Linked DNA regions of Homo sapiens: regions 1, 2, 4 and 5 are each linked to region 3. Evidence: promoter capture Hi-C in 16 types of primary human blood cells and fetal thymus (Javierre and others, 2016). All regions are on one chromosome and are shown on one strand. The core of a region is centred on a gene start or on the middle of the fragment in contact, and the rest is flanking DNA. Distances in the headings are between cores, read along the strand shown. Region 1 overlaps MAPKAPK2 (MAPK activated protein kinase 2). Region 2 overlaps IL19 (interleukin 19). Region 3 holds the start of CD55 (CD55 molecule (Cromer blood group)). Region 4 has its middle 12 kb from the start of IL19. Region 5 overlaps MAPKAPK2 (MAPK activated protein kinase 2).

Evidence for each region. Contacts are between HindIII fragments. The CHiCAGO score rates a contact against its expected background, and 5 or more counts as called.
Region 1: a fragment that was not itself captured here is called in contact with the fragment with the promoter of CD55 in region 3 in 1 of 17 cell types (megakaryocytes); the score reaches 5.6 in megakaryocytes.
Region 2: a contact is called between a fragment that was not itself captured here and the fragment with the promoter of CD55 in region 3, in 1 of 17 cell types (naive CD4 T cells). The highest score is 5.3, in naive CD4 T cells.
Region 4: a contact is called between a fragment that was not itself captured here and the fragment with the promoter of CD55 in region 3, in 1 of 17 cell types (total CD8 T cells). The highest score is 5.2, in total CD8 T cells.
Region 5: a fragment that was not itself captured here is called in contact with the fragment with the promoter of CD55 in region 3 in 1 of 17 cell types (neutrophils); the score reaches 5.2 in neutrophils.

What each region holds. Positions count from the first base shown.
Region 1 is chr1:206,715,333-206,718,032 of GRCh38, forward strand. All of the region lies in intron 1 of MAPKAPK2 (MAPK activated protein kinase 2), which reads left to right. Among named protein-coding and RNA genes, the nearest start is that of MAPKAPK2, 32 kb to the left of the region's middle. The HindIII fragment of the contact is 1,256 bases long and covers 712-1,967 here.
Region 2 is chr1:206,802,179-206,804,878 of GRCh38, forward strand. All of the region lies in intron 2 of IL19 (interleukin 19), which reads left to right. Among named protein-coding and RNA genes, the nearest start is that of IL10, 31 kb to the left of the region's middle. RefSeq lists an enhancer at 1,000-1,049. The HindIII fragment of the contact is 353 bases long and covers 1,275-1,627 here.
Region 3 is chr1:207,320,415-207,323,114 of GRCh38, forward strand. It overlaps CD55 (CD55 molecule (Cromer blood group)), which reads left to right and starts at 1,264. Exons shown (of 10, transcript NM_000574.5): 1 at 1,264-1,451; 2 at 1,968-2,153. The coding sequence starts at 1,352. It overlaps LOC107985251 (a long non-coding RNA gene), which reads right to left and starts at 1,715. Exons shown (of 3, transcript XR_007066838.1): 1 at 1,272-1,715. RefSeq lists an enhancer at 690-899 and a silencer at 1,460-1,539. The HindIII fragment of the contact is 4,328 bases long and covers 1-2,068 here.
Region 4 is chr1:206,757,427-206,760,126 of GRCh38, forward strand. No RefSeq gene overlaps it. Among named protein-coding and RNA genes, the nearest start is that of IL19, 12 kb to the right of the region's middle. The HindIII fragment of the contact is 3,786 bases long and covers 1-2,700 here.
Region 5 is chr1:206,689,171-206,691,870 of GRCh38, forward strand. The region is part of intron 1 of MAPKAPK2 (MAPK activated protein kinase 2); the gene reads left to right. Among named protein-coding and RNA genes, the nearest start is that of MAPKAPK2, 5.6 kb to the left of the region's middle. The HindIII fragment of the contact is 2,020 bases long and covers 411-2,430 here.

The sequences.
Region 1 (2,700 bases), core at 90-2,589, 610 kb before region 3:
TTGTTGTGTTTAGTGAGCGCAGACTACTCCCTTCGGGCCTGTCCTGGCTCATGGGCAGTTGCTCGTGTCTTTGCACACATCCTTTACTGTCTCAGCTCTTCACTTCTCCCTGACATTTGTGGCTGCCTCCTCCTGGTTTCTTCTTTAAGCGATTATTGTGTTTTAGATGATCAGAATTCACTTTTTAGAGACTTGGACCTTGTCTTTCAAAATGCATTCCCTTTTGGGATCTCTGCCCATCATACTCCTTGGTCTCAACATCTAAATATTGGTTTTTTTTTTCTTTTTCTTTCTTTCTTTTTTTTTTTTTTTGAGATAGGGTCTCACTCTGTTGCCCAGGCTGAAGTGCAGTGGTACGATCATTGGCTCACTGCAGCCTTGACCTCCTGGGCTCAGTGATCTTCCTGCCTCAGCCTCCTGAGTAGCTGGGGCCACAGGCTAGTGCCACCATGCCCTGCTAATTTTTTAAATTATTCATAGAGACGGGGTCTCCCTGTGTTGCCCAGGCTGGTCTTGAACTCCTCCTTCTCCTTTTTGTATCCTCTTAGTCATCAAGCCATCCTCCTGCCTCAGCCTCCCAAAGTGCTGGGATTTCAGTGTGATCCACTGCGCCTGACCTGAATATTGGTTTTTTTGAAGTCTAGGCTAAACAACTGTTTTTGTCTCAGTTTTTTTTTTTTTAATTTCCCTCCTTTGAACTCTGAATTGACAAGCTTACTTCCTCCCAATGTGGTGTTCTTGTTATTATTGTTTTTGCTAGCTGAAGTATTTTTTTTTTTTTTAAACATAATTTACTAGGTTTTTCTTCCTGGCCAGAAGTAAGTTCAGGGTAATAGTTCCCTTCCTTGTATCTTCAGCTGTGTGAGAGGTAATGTAGAGTGAGAATTTATTTATCAGGTGCCCTGCTCGTAGCAGAAGGCATGACCTCGACTTCTCTCTCACAGTGACCTTGTGTTTGTGTTGGTGGCTTGAACTCACTCTTGTGTCTGGGCCATTTCTCTCACTGTGTAGGAAAGAGTGGTTCCTGTCTTCTCCCTGGCCATGTAGTCTGCTGTGTGTCACCATAACAATCATCTATCTTCCGGTTCTTTTTCCTTCTCTCCTCACCCAGTTGTCTCCAGTCTTAGGCGTGTGGAATTGTGTACTGGGTGGGGGATGTGTGTGTGTGGGCCGCCCTCTTGATTTGTAGGATCCTTCTCTTCCTCCACATTCTCTGTCAACTCTCCTCCACCCCCTGTGAGATCTGTGGACTCAGGTATACGTTGCTGTGAGTCTCATTCTGCTCAGCTGGGGTGATGAAGGTGAGATTGCTTTTGTCGCTTCAAAGTAAAATTTTAGATTTGCTTTGGCAGCCGCACAGGGTCGTATGCATGGGGGCTGCTTAGGCCAGAGGCGCAGTGTTCCTGACCTCCTTCCGTCTTACTTTCTCTTGCTAGTTTGTCCATCTCTGTGGATTTTTTAAAGTAGATACTAGATACCTAGATACTACTAAGAACATGATCTTTCTCTTCTTGCCACTTGGATTTTAGCTTAAAGCCAACTTGGAACATTTAGGGTGTTTCCTTCCTACCACTGTCTGCCTGGTCTCCTAGGGAAAGATGCCTTGTATCTTGTTCTGGTGTACAGTCTGCCCATTTAATTGGTAAGTGTTTATTGTGACTCTTCTCTACTGGGCTCTGGCCCCAGGCCTGATGCGAATAGGGCAGGCCTGTGAACAGAGCAAAGACGAGTCACTTAGGAGGGGACGAGAGAGGCCAGCGGTAAACTAATATTACCAGCTCAGGGTTTATTTGTCAAAGCCTCCTTTGCTGTGAATAAAAGGTTAGATCTGAATTGGGTCTGAGTCCTGGCTTTATTACCTACTAGCCATGTGGCCTTGGGCAAATTATTAATACTTCCTTGGGCCTTGGTTGCCGCACCTGTACGATGGAGTCAGCAATGGATCCTGTTCTGTAGGGCTGCTAGGAAGCTTAAATATAGCAATATTTGCTATATATAAAGTGCACCTGGTACATAATTGATGCGGTTGAAATGAAAATTCCTCTTTCTCTTTCAGTGCCATTTGCTGGAAGAAACAGAAGAAATATCTCTGTCCCCATCTTTCAGTTTCCTACCCAAGACTCCTGTGTGGTTGACATCACTGCTGTGTGCAGTGTTCATGTCCATATAAGTCAGAAGTGGCTTGCAGCAGTGGTTTGGGGCTTTGGGGCCTCTGCTCGCTCCTTATCAATTCTTAGGGTTACATCCTCTGGGAAGATGCCAGGCCTGGTCAAGTGTGGCCTCTGACCTAGAGTTATGCAAGGCCTCTCTTCCTCCTGTGGCCAGTGTGAAATTTCTCATCTGTGCTCTCCTGCCTCTAGCAGGAAGGTTGGCCTACATTTGGGGCACATCTCTGTCACTGTCTCAGGCCAGGGGTTCAAATATAAGACCTGAATCATACTGCACCTCAGAACCCAAACCCTTTTACTTAATTTTTTTTAAAAAATTTCATTCAGATGGTAAAGGTTCAAACAATACATAGAGATATAAAACAGAAAGAAAAAAAAATACACGCCTCTCTCTAGTACCTATTCCCCAGTAGTCAACACTGCTACCTTTTTTTTGCAGGGGAGGTAAATTCCTCCAGAAAAAAACTTAAACATCTACAATTTCATATATCCTCTCCCCTCTTCCCTAAAAAACAAAACAATAACAACAAAA
Region 2 (2,700 bases), core at 201-2,700, 520 kb before region 3:
AGGTCACACAGCTTATGAGTTGGTGATGGAGATGGGATTAGACCATTCCATTAGACTTTAAAACACATGGCTTATTGGGGCCCTAGAGAACACCTAGTAATTCAGGTTGCCTGGTGCCTACAGTAAGTCAGTAGGTTGTGAGAGGAAAGGTGTACATGACAGAATTATATTATTCATAATATCTGGGTGGTTTTTTTTTCTGCCTTCCATGTACCAAAACCTGGGCTAAGCATTTTTATATATTACCTCATCAAAACGAACAGCACCTTTATCAAGCGATTACCCCTATTTTACAGATAAGGAAACTAAATGTCAGAGAGTTCAATAATTTTCCCAAGATCACGAAGCCAATAAGTGATGGAGTCATGACTTAAATTCAGGTCTTTTGGTGACACAACCCAGACTAATTGGGAAAGAGCTTCATGGGTAAATCGTGAGTCATACTTAATTTCAATTCCTGGTGACATAATGAGGGTACAAATTTTCAATTTTTTTTTTCTTTTTTTTTTGCCATGGGCAAGTTCCAAGCCTGGGCTTCTCTTCCAACACTGTCCCTCCCTTCCCTGTATAGTTCTGCTCACTTGTCCTGTCTTCTTGCTCTGTCCTCTATGCCCACATGTATAGAACTGGATCCCCAATCAAGGCTAACTGCTAGCCTTAAAGAAAGACCAATCTTCTGGCAGATAAGAAGGACTGTTAAGGAAGACGAGGGGACAGGAAAGCAAGGGGAATGTCAAAGAAATAAGGGGCCTGGCCAATATCTCAAGAACAGAAGCAGCTGTGGCCCTGGAAGGGCGAGGGGGACGTCATTTCCTTTTCCAGATCCCTTTTTTCCTTTGAGGTTCAGTCCCAAATGGGTAAAGTTCAAATACTAGTCTTACTCAGAATTCCCTAGTCCTGCTTGCTCAAAAGGTGGATTTTCTGGCCTCACTCCAATCTTCAAAACATCTTTTTGTGGGGCTTGAGAGTCTGCCTTTTAAAATAGCACCCCAGAGAGTCTACACATTGAGGGCCTTGGCTTCTGTAATGCAGTTACATCCATGGGCTTTCGCTGTTGCTGCTGAGAGAACTTGGGGTGCCAGGAAGTCGGGGTTGGATGCCTTCCAGTTCCCTGCCCTAATCAGAGGCATTGACCTGGAGGCCCTGTGTAGGAGTCCCCATCTTTCGGAATTAGTGATGTGGTTAGAGTAGCAACGTGACTCTCTGTGGACGGAAGAAGGTAGGTCGGATGTGAGAGTCTCCCTCCATGAACATGTGTGCGTCATCTGAGTCAAAGCTTGTATCTTTACTCTCAAAAACAAGTCATTTTTGTTCCTGTCAGCATCTTGGCCAGCCCACAACAAAGAGTACAAGCTGGATGCTTGTACTGTGCTGCGATAAAGAGGCCCAGACACAGGCCTCAGGTGATCCTACAGAGCATGGCTGGAGAGAACAGGAAAGGATTATTCCCCTGGGGGCTGATGGGGCTGCCTTCAGCAACACAAAAACATGCTTACAGAAAACTGCTGGAGGACATAGGAGTGATCTGCTTGCAATGAGGTTTTTCAACCACCAGGAATGGGGTGACCTAGTCCAGAGCCCTCTAATAAAGTGACTTTCAAACTGACTGCACTTCAAAATAATCCTAAGCTTTAACAAATAGAGATGCCCAGGCTTCATCCCAGATGTACAAAATTCAACTCTCAGGGACAGGGTCTGGGACTCTGTGCAAAGCCCCCTGGGAATTCTGGAACAACTAATCTGGCATTGCTCTAGGAAATAGCACTTGGAAAGCACTCCAGCAAGGTGGGAGGGAAAATTATTCCAGCTTGAACACTACAATATCAAGTAATCCTTTCTCTCTTCGCCCTGTCTCTTCCCTTCCCTTTCTTGCTCTCTGTAACAGGCAGGAGGCTCAGAAGAGCTTCTTCTCTCACGCTTCTTGCAGGGCAGTACAGGGAAAGATGTAGCTGTGTAAATTCCAGGAGGGCTTCAGGTATATTTAAATATGGGTTGCTTGCCACATTCACCTGCCTATCAAGTTTGCAGATGACAACTGCAGAATGTGGCACCCAGGTCTTGAAAGTCATGAAGCAGAATTGGATAACATCTGTCCGAGTCATGACAAAGAGGGTTCCTGTGCTGGGAGTGGGGGCTAATGAACCTGGAGATCCTTTCCAACACAGACATTCCCTGATGCCAATGATAACCTTTTCAAATTGTTGTTTTCTTGATTTTTATCTGTTTCTGGCACCTCATTTGATTCCCTATATGACAATAACCCCCAGGTTGAGTGCACTGAAATAATTTAGGTAATGAGAAGCTGAAAGTTACTACAGATGGAAGGAATTAGGGTGTATAAAGTGTGCATTGTGTGAGTCATAGGCTGTGTCTTTAAGCAACAAGCTTTTATTGGTGTCAGCATCTTTCCAGGTACAATGCAAACCCAGTGAGAATGAGATTTGGGGTTTAAAAGTGTTTCTGACCAGAGATGCCTGAGGGAATGACCCAGGGATCAAACAGAGATGCAAGAGAGCAAGGCTTCAAGGAAACTCACCTCAGCCTGTTTCCTCAACTGCTTTCCGCACCTTTGTTTGCGGGTGGAAGAATAGAAAATGGGCTTGAATTTTTCAATCTAAAATTCTCTGTTCAAACCTGAAATTCTCTTACCTTATAGGAAGAGCAGCTGTATCTTTCAAGGATAGAATGGGTGCTAACTGC
Region 3 (2,700 bases), core at 14-2,513:
CCAGAAAACCAAACACTGCATGTTCTTACTCATAAGTGGGAGTTGAACAATGAGAATACACAGACACAGGGAGGGGAACATCACACACGGGGGCCTGTTGGAGGGTGGGGGTTAGGGGAGGGATAGCATTAGGAGAAATACCTAATGTAGATGTTGGGTTGATGGGTGCAGCAAACCACCATGGCACGTGTATACCTATGTAACAAACCTGCATGTTCTGCACATGTATTCCAGAACTTAAAGAATATATATTTATATATGTATAAATATATATGAATATATAAATATAAATATATATATAAGCTCCCCACGTGATTCTAATGTGTGGCCAGTCTTGCAAACCTCAGGCTATTTATTCTAAAGGGTTTGTAACAAGCCTTCCTCTTAAAATCCACCCCACCACCATTCAGCGTTTTGGGGTCTGTTTGTTTTTATTGTTATCCCACCCCACACCGCCCCGAGGCGCGCGCGCGCGCGCGCACACACACACACACACACACACACACACATACACACACGCACACTGGTGAATTTCTCTCTACAGTCAGTCTGGAGTAATCCCAAAGTGGTGTCTTTCGTAAATAAGGAGAACCCGGGTGAAGAAAATGACTCCCACCCGAACAAGGCATGAACAATGTTCACTCCCTACTGTGTTATTCAACCTGTTTCCCCAGGTCTCTGTTTTCACATTAGAGAGTGTTCTAGGAGATGACGCCCTTCCTCCTTAGTTATTTCCCCACCCTCGTGCTGGCCTTTGACAGACCTCCCAGTAGAGGGCCCAAGACGCGGGTAGAGCACCGCGTCTCAGCGCCTGAGTCTCAGCCCCCGAACTCCACCGCACCTGCAGGTCCCCTTGGCAGCACTCAAGCGCGGGGATGCTCCGCTTAGACGAACTCACGTGCGGGCAGCAAGGCCTGCGATACTTGAGCACCCCTCCCCCTCTCCCGTTTACACCCCGTTTGTGTTTACGTAGCGAGGAGATATTTAGGTTTCTAGAAGGCAGGTCATCGCAGGCCCCACCCAGCAGTGGAGAGAGTGAGTCCCAGAGGGTGTTGCCAGCGAGCTCCTCCTCCTTCCCCTCCCCACTCTCCCCGAGTCTAGGGCCCCCGGGGCGTATGACGCCGGAGCCCTCTGACCGCACCTCTGACCACAACAAACCCCTACTCCACCCGTCTTGTTTGTCCCACCCTTGGTGACGCAGAGCCCCAGCCCAGACCCCGCCCAAAGCACTCATTTAACTGGTATTGCGGAGCCACGAGGCTTCTGCTTACTGCAACTCGCTCCGGCCGCTGGGCGTAGCTGCGACTCGGCGGAGTCCCGGCGGCGCGTCCTTGTTCTAACCCGGCGCGCCATGACCGTCGCGCGGCCGAGCGTGCCCGCGGCGCTGCCCCTCCTCGGGGAGCTGCCCCGGCTGCTGCTGCTGGTGCTGTTGTGCCTGCCGGCCGTGTGGGGTGAGTAGGGGCCCGGCGGCCGGGGAAGCCCCTGGGCTGGGTGGGAGGTCCAAGTCGGTCTCTGAGACACGCACAGGGGCCGGCGACTTGGCAGGTGGGGAGCTTGGCCCGCGGTCGTGGTTCCCGCCGTCCTGTGCCTTTAAGGCTCTCGCCGCTCACCAGCATTTGGGGCTCCTGCTGTGTCGGCCCCCAGCTGACTTGGCTTTAGGGGTCGGCGTGGAGGGTTAAAGAGGCCCCGGCTGGGTTTGCGGAGCAGCCAAGCCTGGCAAAATCGAAAGGGAGGGCTCAAAGAGACTGTATCCTTAACCCCCAAAAAGCTGGTCTAAAAGGATGGGAGGCCAGACCGCTGACCGTTCCCCACTCTCGACAGAGTCCAGCCGTGTGGAGCACACGATGCTGCAAACTTGCATGTCATCTCTTTCAGGTGTGGCATTTCAAGGGGGCTTGTGTCTTGAAAACAGCAACTGTGAGGACACTTGATAGTCATTTCCTTCAGTTCTGCTTTTGTCTCCCTAGGTGACTGTGGCCTTCCCCCAGATGTACCTAATGCCCAGCCAGCTTTGGAAGGCCGTACAAGTTTTCCCGAGGATACTGTAATAACGTACAAATGTGAAGAAAGCTTTGTGAAAATTCCTGGCGAGAAGGACTCAGTGATCTGCCTTAAGGGCAGTCAATGGTCAGATATTGAAGAGTTCTGCAATCGTAAGTTCTTCATCTTTTTAGAAAAGTTCTGGGAATGGAATGTATCTTAAATTTATTTTTATATACCTTTGGAGTGACTAGTAATTGATAGTTCTCTAGCGTTACTAAACCCCAGGGTATACCCTGTTGGCACGTCACACTCCAGCTAATTGAAGACATTTACCACCCTGAGTAGGTCCTGCTGCTTCATTAAGAGTTTTTCTTCCTAACACTGTACCTCTTGAACGAACTAGTAGAGAAAATAAACAATAGGTATTGTTTAGGGAGTAAACATATAAAATATATTTGGCAATTGCCTTGAGACACATAGCGTAAATGATATGTTTTCTTAAGTATTTTATAAAGTAGGACTTACCAAATACAACTCTGTGGTGGCATTTTTAAAAGCTCTCAATATTTACTTCAAAATCTGTTATACTTGTACATATTTATAGGGTACATGTGATATTCTGGCACATGCATACAGTGTGTCATGATCAATCAGGGTAATTGGATAGCCAGTACCTCAAACACTTGGTGTTTGTGTGGAGAATATTCCAAATCTTCT
Region 4 (2,700 bases), core at 189-2,688, 560 kb before region 3:
TGTGGTGCCCCAAAACAACTACAGTATTAGCATCAAAGATCACTGGTCACAGGACATCACAACAGACTGAATAATCATGAAAACTTTGGAATATTCTGAGAATTACCAAAATGTGACACAGAGACACAAAGTGAGCACATGCTGTTGGAAAAATAGTGTCGATAGACTTGCTCGTCATGGATTGCCACGAACCTTCAATTTATGAAAAAACCCTGCATTATCTACAAAGCACAATAAAGTGAAGTGTAATAAAATGAGGTACACTTGTACTCTCAACTCCTCCTCCTCGTCTTTTTGTTATACTCACGGGGCAAAACAATTCTGCCTTCTATGTATTGCTCCCCCGGCTGCCAAAAGAATCCTGAGAAAAATGATATAGTCTGGCAGACCATTTCAATTCATGATCACCTACCTCAACTGAGCTCAACACTGCCTGGGAATCTACTACATTTCTCTAGAGTCGTTTGTCTTCCGTGTCTCTGCAAACATCATTTCAAACCTTTGTTTCTCTCCTTAAACCGCCCTGCATTCTCTCCTTATTCATTCTCTTAAGAGTAAATATAAGTCATCTGATGAAATTAACCTCAACTTCCTGCCAACGATTCTTCAAACCAACCTGCTTCTGTACCCACCGTCTCTACTTTCTTCCTGTTATTATTCAGAGGAGGTGCCCTCTTCATTTCAAAGGTAGTTCTTTGCTCTGCCTGCATCCCACCCCGTCCTGCTTTCTGAGTAACCTGACTTCATCAGTTCTCCCATCTCACTCTTCTGTCTTCAACTTCTTCTTCTCCTCTCCTGGCCCAATGTCTTGAAACAGTTGTCCACGCTTGTCATCCTATTATTATTATTTGAGATGGAGTCTTGCTCTGTCACCCAGGCTGGAGTGCAATGGCATGATCTTGGCTCACTGCAACTTCCACCTCCCTGGTTCAAGCGATTCTCCCACCTCAGCCTCCCGAGTAGCTGGGATTACAGGCGTGCACCACCACACCCGACTAAATTTTGTATTTTTAGTAGAGATGGGGTTTCACCATGTTGGCCAGGCTGGCTGGTCTTGAACTTCTGACTTCAGATGATCTGCCTGCCTTGGCCTCCCAAAGTGCTGGGATTGAAGGCGTAAGCCACCACGCTGGTATAGCAGGCATGAGCCACCCCATTTTTTCACCTCCTATTTCATGTGCAACCATCCGTCTTCCATCCCTACCGCTCTACATCCCTACAGCTCTACATCCTTACAGCTCTTCTTGATAAAATCAACAGTGCCTTTCATGTGTTCCATGCACTAGGGGCTCTTTTGCCTTGATTTTACTTGACGTTTTGATAGCATTTGATCTAGCTGACCATTCTCTTTCTCGAAATAGTTTCTTTCCTTGTCCTCAGGGATGCCACTCTCTTCTGGTGTTTCTTTTTATCGCTCAGGCCACTCTTTAATGAGTCTCTTTGACAGCTTCTCCTGCTCTGGCTTATGAATATCTGGGTTCTTCGGAGCTTGGTTCTGGGCTCTCTTCTCTTCCATTCTGCACTGTTTTCCCTTGGTAATCTTACCCACTCCCACGATTTTACTCACCATCTTTGTATCAATGACCCCCACATAGTGATCTCCAGACTCAATCTTGATGTCCATCTGACCACGTGTATATTTTCACTTAAAGACTCAGAGGCACCTCCAACTCAGCAGGACCAGTGTAGACCAGATCACCTTCCCCTTCAAACTTGCTGCTTCTCCACCCAGCTGCTCAGACAAGAGATGAGGGTTCACCTTGGCCGTCGCCCACTCTCACCATTCTGACCTAAATAATTGCAGACTATTTGAAACCTTGCACTTCTCTCAATTCCTGTTTATTACCACCTTAGTCCAGAACACAATTTCTTCCTGTCTGGACTGGAAGCAAATGGCTCCTAAATGGTCTCATACAGAAGGTATATATTATCCTCTCTGTTTAATAGCCTTCAATGGCTTCCCTTTGCTCTTAGAGTCTAAATTTTTGACCATAGCCTACCATCCCTGAGTGATCAGACCCATGCCCACTTCTTCAAGCTCGTCTTAAATCTCTCCCCATCACATATAATGTCCCTTACTCTCTGTGATTCATCTTTTAGTTTCTCAAAGAGTTTAAGTTTCTTCTTGCCTCAGGGCCTCAGAACATGAGATGGGATGGAGAAGTCAGAGAGCTGTGAAGAGAGCCCAGGGTCCAGCTGGGTCGTGAATTGGTACAAATTTACCTTTGCTCCAGAGATAAACCCCTTCTCCCCCGTTCTTTGCTGTTCTTAGTGGTCTTTAAATCTGCAAAATGCTCTGCTTCTTACCACCTCTCTCTTCATTGGGCCAGCTCCTGCTCATCCTTCATGTCCAGTTGAATGTTACCATCTCATGAAAGCATCCCCTAGCCCTGAGTCTAGGTTAGTTGCTTTCTGAAATCTCACACTTCTAATTAATAGAAATAATCATGATTATAATAACATTATATAGTTAACTTTATAATATCTGTTTCCTCAACTAGCTATTAAATCCGTGTAGCTGGAGCCAGGATTGGTGGGAGGCTGAGGAAGGAGGATCACTTGCACCTAGGAGTTCAAATCCAGCCTGGGCAACATAGTGAGACCCCCATCTCTATTTAAAAAATTAAAAGAAATCCACGAGGGCAAGGATTATGTCTGTCTTATTCACTGCTTTTTCTTCGACACCCAGCATAGTACCTG
Region 5 (2,700 bases), core at 171-2,670, 630 kb before region 3:
TATCTTTCCATTGCGTGGATTAGAGAAAACAAGGTCCTGTAGTTTCTTTTCCTTTCCTTTCTCCAGCATTCCTCTCTCCCTAGGTCATGGAAGTGCCACTGCGATGTGGCTTCCTTTGTTCTGGTGAAGGGGAGATGATTGGAGCCTCTCATGATTATTCTGGATGCTGTTGGAGGGAAATGCCAGAGCTCCCACATCCCCACAGTACAGGCACCATCTCCTTTCCAACACACCTCATACTGTGTACCTGTGGAGGGCAAGACAGTTAGTGTGGCTAGGTGAGAGGCAGTGTCCCAAACTGGAGTTTGCTGGAGTTGTCACAAGGTTAGGAAAATTTCATTGACCAAGCCAGCCTCTTTTATATGCAATATGGTTACAGGTAGGTAACAGTTTGCTGAATATCTATCATAAGCTTAGTTGCATGGAGGATACACATGTAAAAAATGGCCTGTAAAATTTTGAGTCAAGAAACTTATTTAGAGAAGGTGAAATTAACACATGTAGGCTAGGGCTGCACTGTCCAATCTGGTAGCCACTACCCTCACATAGCTAATTAAATTAAAATTAATTAACATGAATGGATTAAACTAAATTAAATTTGAAAAATCAGTTGCTAGCCACACTTCAAGTGTTCAGTAAACATGTGGCTAATGGCTATCGAATTGAACAATGCAGAAGAACATTTTCATCCTTGCAGAACGTTCTCCTAGACTTTGTTGGTCTGGGAGCTAAATCGTGTGGCTGGGAATAGAGGAGCTTTGAAAGAGGGGAATCTGTGGTGACTCCAGGAGCTAAGGGAGGCTCCAGCTGGGGTCAGTGGGACATGGCTGTGCCTCTGAGGAGTGAGCAAGTCTGTGAGAGGTGTGGTGACATTGGCCTGGCTAGAACTGAGGGGAGGAACAGGAGGTCAGAGTGGTCAGGGGTTGGTGGCTCCAAATTGAAGCTAACTCATCTTGTGTCAAAGCAGGCTTTAAAGTGTTTGAGGGGCATGAAGGTGTCAAAAAAGGTTAGGAATCATTGAAGATGGGCTTACAGAATTATGAGGGAAGGGTCAGGTTTGTGGTTTCAGAGATCCTGTCCCTCCTGGCCGTAGCCCTGACCCCAGCCCTGACCCCTGGCTCCTGCAGCAGGGCCCTTGGCATCCACTGAGGCAAGATTGAAGCTGGGTCAGCTCACTGTCCTTTTTTACTTGTGAATTCTGGGCTTTGACTGAGCTTGGAGACAATCTCCAGCTAAGATACGGGATCAGTGGCTGACAGGAGGGGAGAGACAAGCAGTCCCTGGGCCTTAGGGCCAAATATTGGTGGGTGTCTAGGAAACAAAAGAACCCCTTTGTGGGAGGAGGAAGGTATTGGGACCTGTGATGTTTCTGCTACTTGGGACCTGAGAGGTTGGGCCATCCATAATTGATGATTTTTCTTATGAAGCAGGTACAGGGGATTGGGAGGAGGGCCTGGAAGAGCCCAGCCTCAGAACTGCTGGAGGCAAACTTAATCCTTGGGCTAGGGGAGGGGCCAAAGCTCCTGTTAGCCAGAGCCCAGGAGTGTGCTGAGTGGGTGCCAGGAGGAATGTCAGCCAAGATGGGGAAGAGCAGGGCACAGTCGTCTGCATCTGAGCCATTGCCCAGTTCCCAAGCAGCCTTGCCATGCTCTGAGCTGGGGTTCTTCCTGGTGGCGTGATGTCTGTGGTGCAGGATTCACTCTATTCTCCTACCTTTCCTCTACTTCAGGCCCTGCCAAGTGTCATGTGAGGTCTCTTTTCCCCCTCTTCCCTGCACTGTATCTTTCCAGATGGTTCTGTGTCCTGGAGGGAGGTGGATGGGCAGAGAAGAGTTGTTCTTTGCAGGGACTGCAGCTTTTCTTGGTAATGGTTTGAGGCCCAGTGGCAAAGCAACCCACACTTCATAGTAACTTAGAACCCACACTCCCTGGTCATCTTTCTTGACTCCTTGCACATCACTGAGGAAGAAGCTGGCCTAGTGCAGAAATGTTCAGTGGCATGTCCAAGGTCTTACATGGTGTCAGCATCCGAGCCACATCTTGAGACCTGGTTCCCTGGGACCTGCTCTTGGTCTGGGCCCCTTTGGTTTTTGGTTGCTAGAAGACTGTAGACCTGGTGGAGCAAAACTGAGCTCCACTAACGCATCAGCTAGGATCTTTCCACATGGGTTACCTTGTAAATGGGGGCATTGGTGAAGAGAAGGGGCCATGTCACTGGACAGTGTAATAACGTATGGCAGTTATAGAACCCAAATCAGATTGCTGTGTACCTTTTCTAGTTTTTAGGAAAATACTGGTATTTTGTATTTTAAGATATATATATATATATATATATACACACATACACAGATATAGATATGTAGAGATGAGCTTGTTACCATGGGTTATGTGCTAGATAAGAAAGCAAAAATAAGTGCATACATAAATAGAAAGCTTCCAGTGTTTGTATGCTGCTAACAAGTTACATGACCTTGAATAGGTCAGCTAAACTTTCCAGGCCTCATTGCACAGAGGGTCGGCTCGAGCAGCTCCTGAGCACCGGCAGGGTGAGGCAGTAGAAGGCGGTGCTGCAGGCCAGAGGTGGAGGGCAGGCAGGATAGCTTGCTGACTTGCTCCGGGTCTGACCATCAGCAGTATCTGGGTCAGCACAGATGCCCTTTCGTAAGCTTAGTGCCTGGCTCCAGGGCAGCCTGTGTCCAGT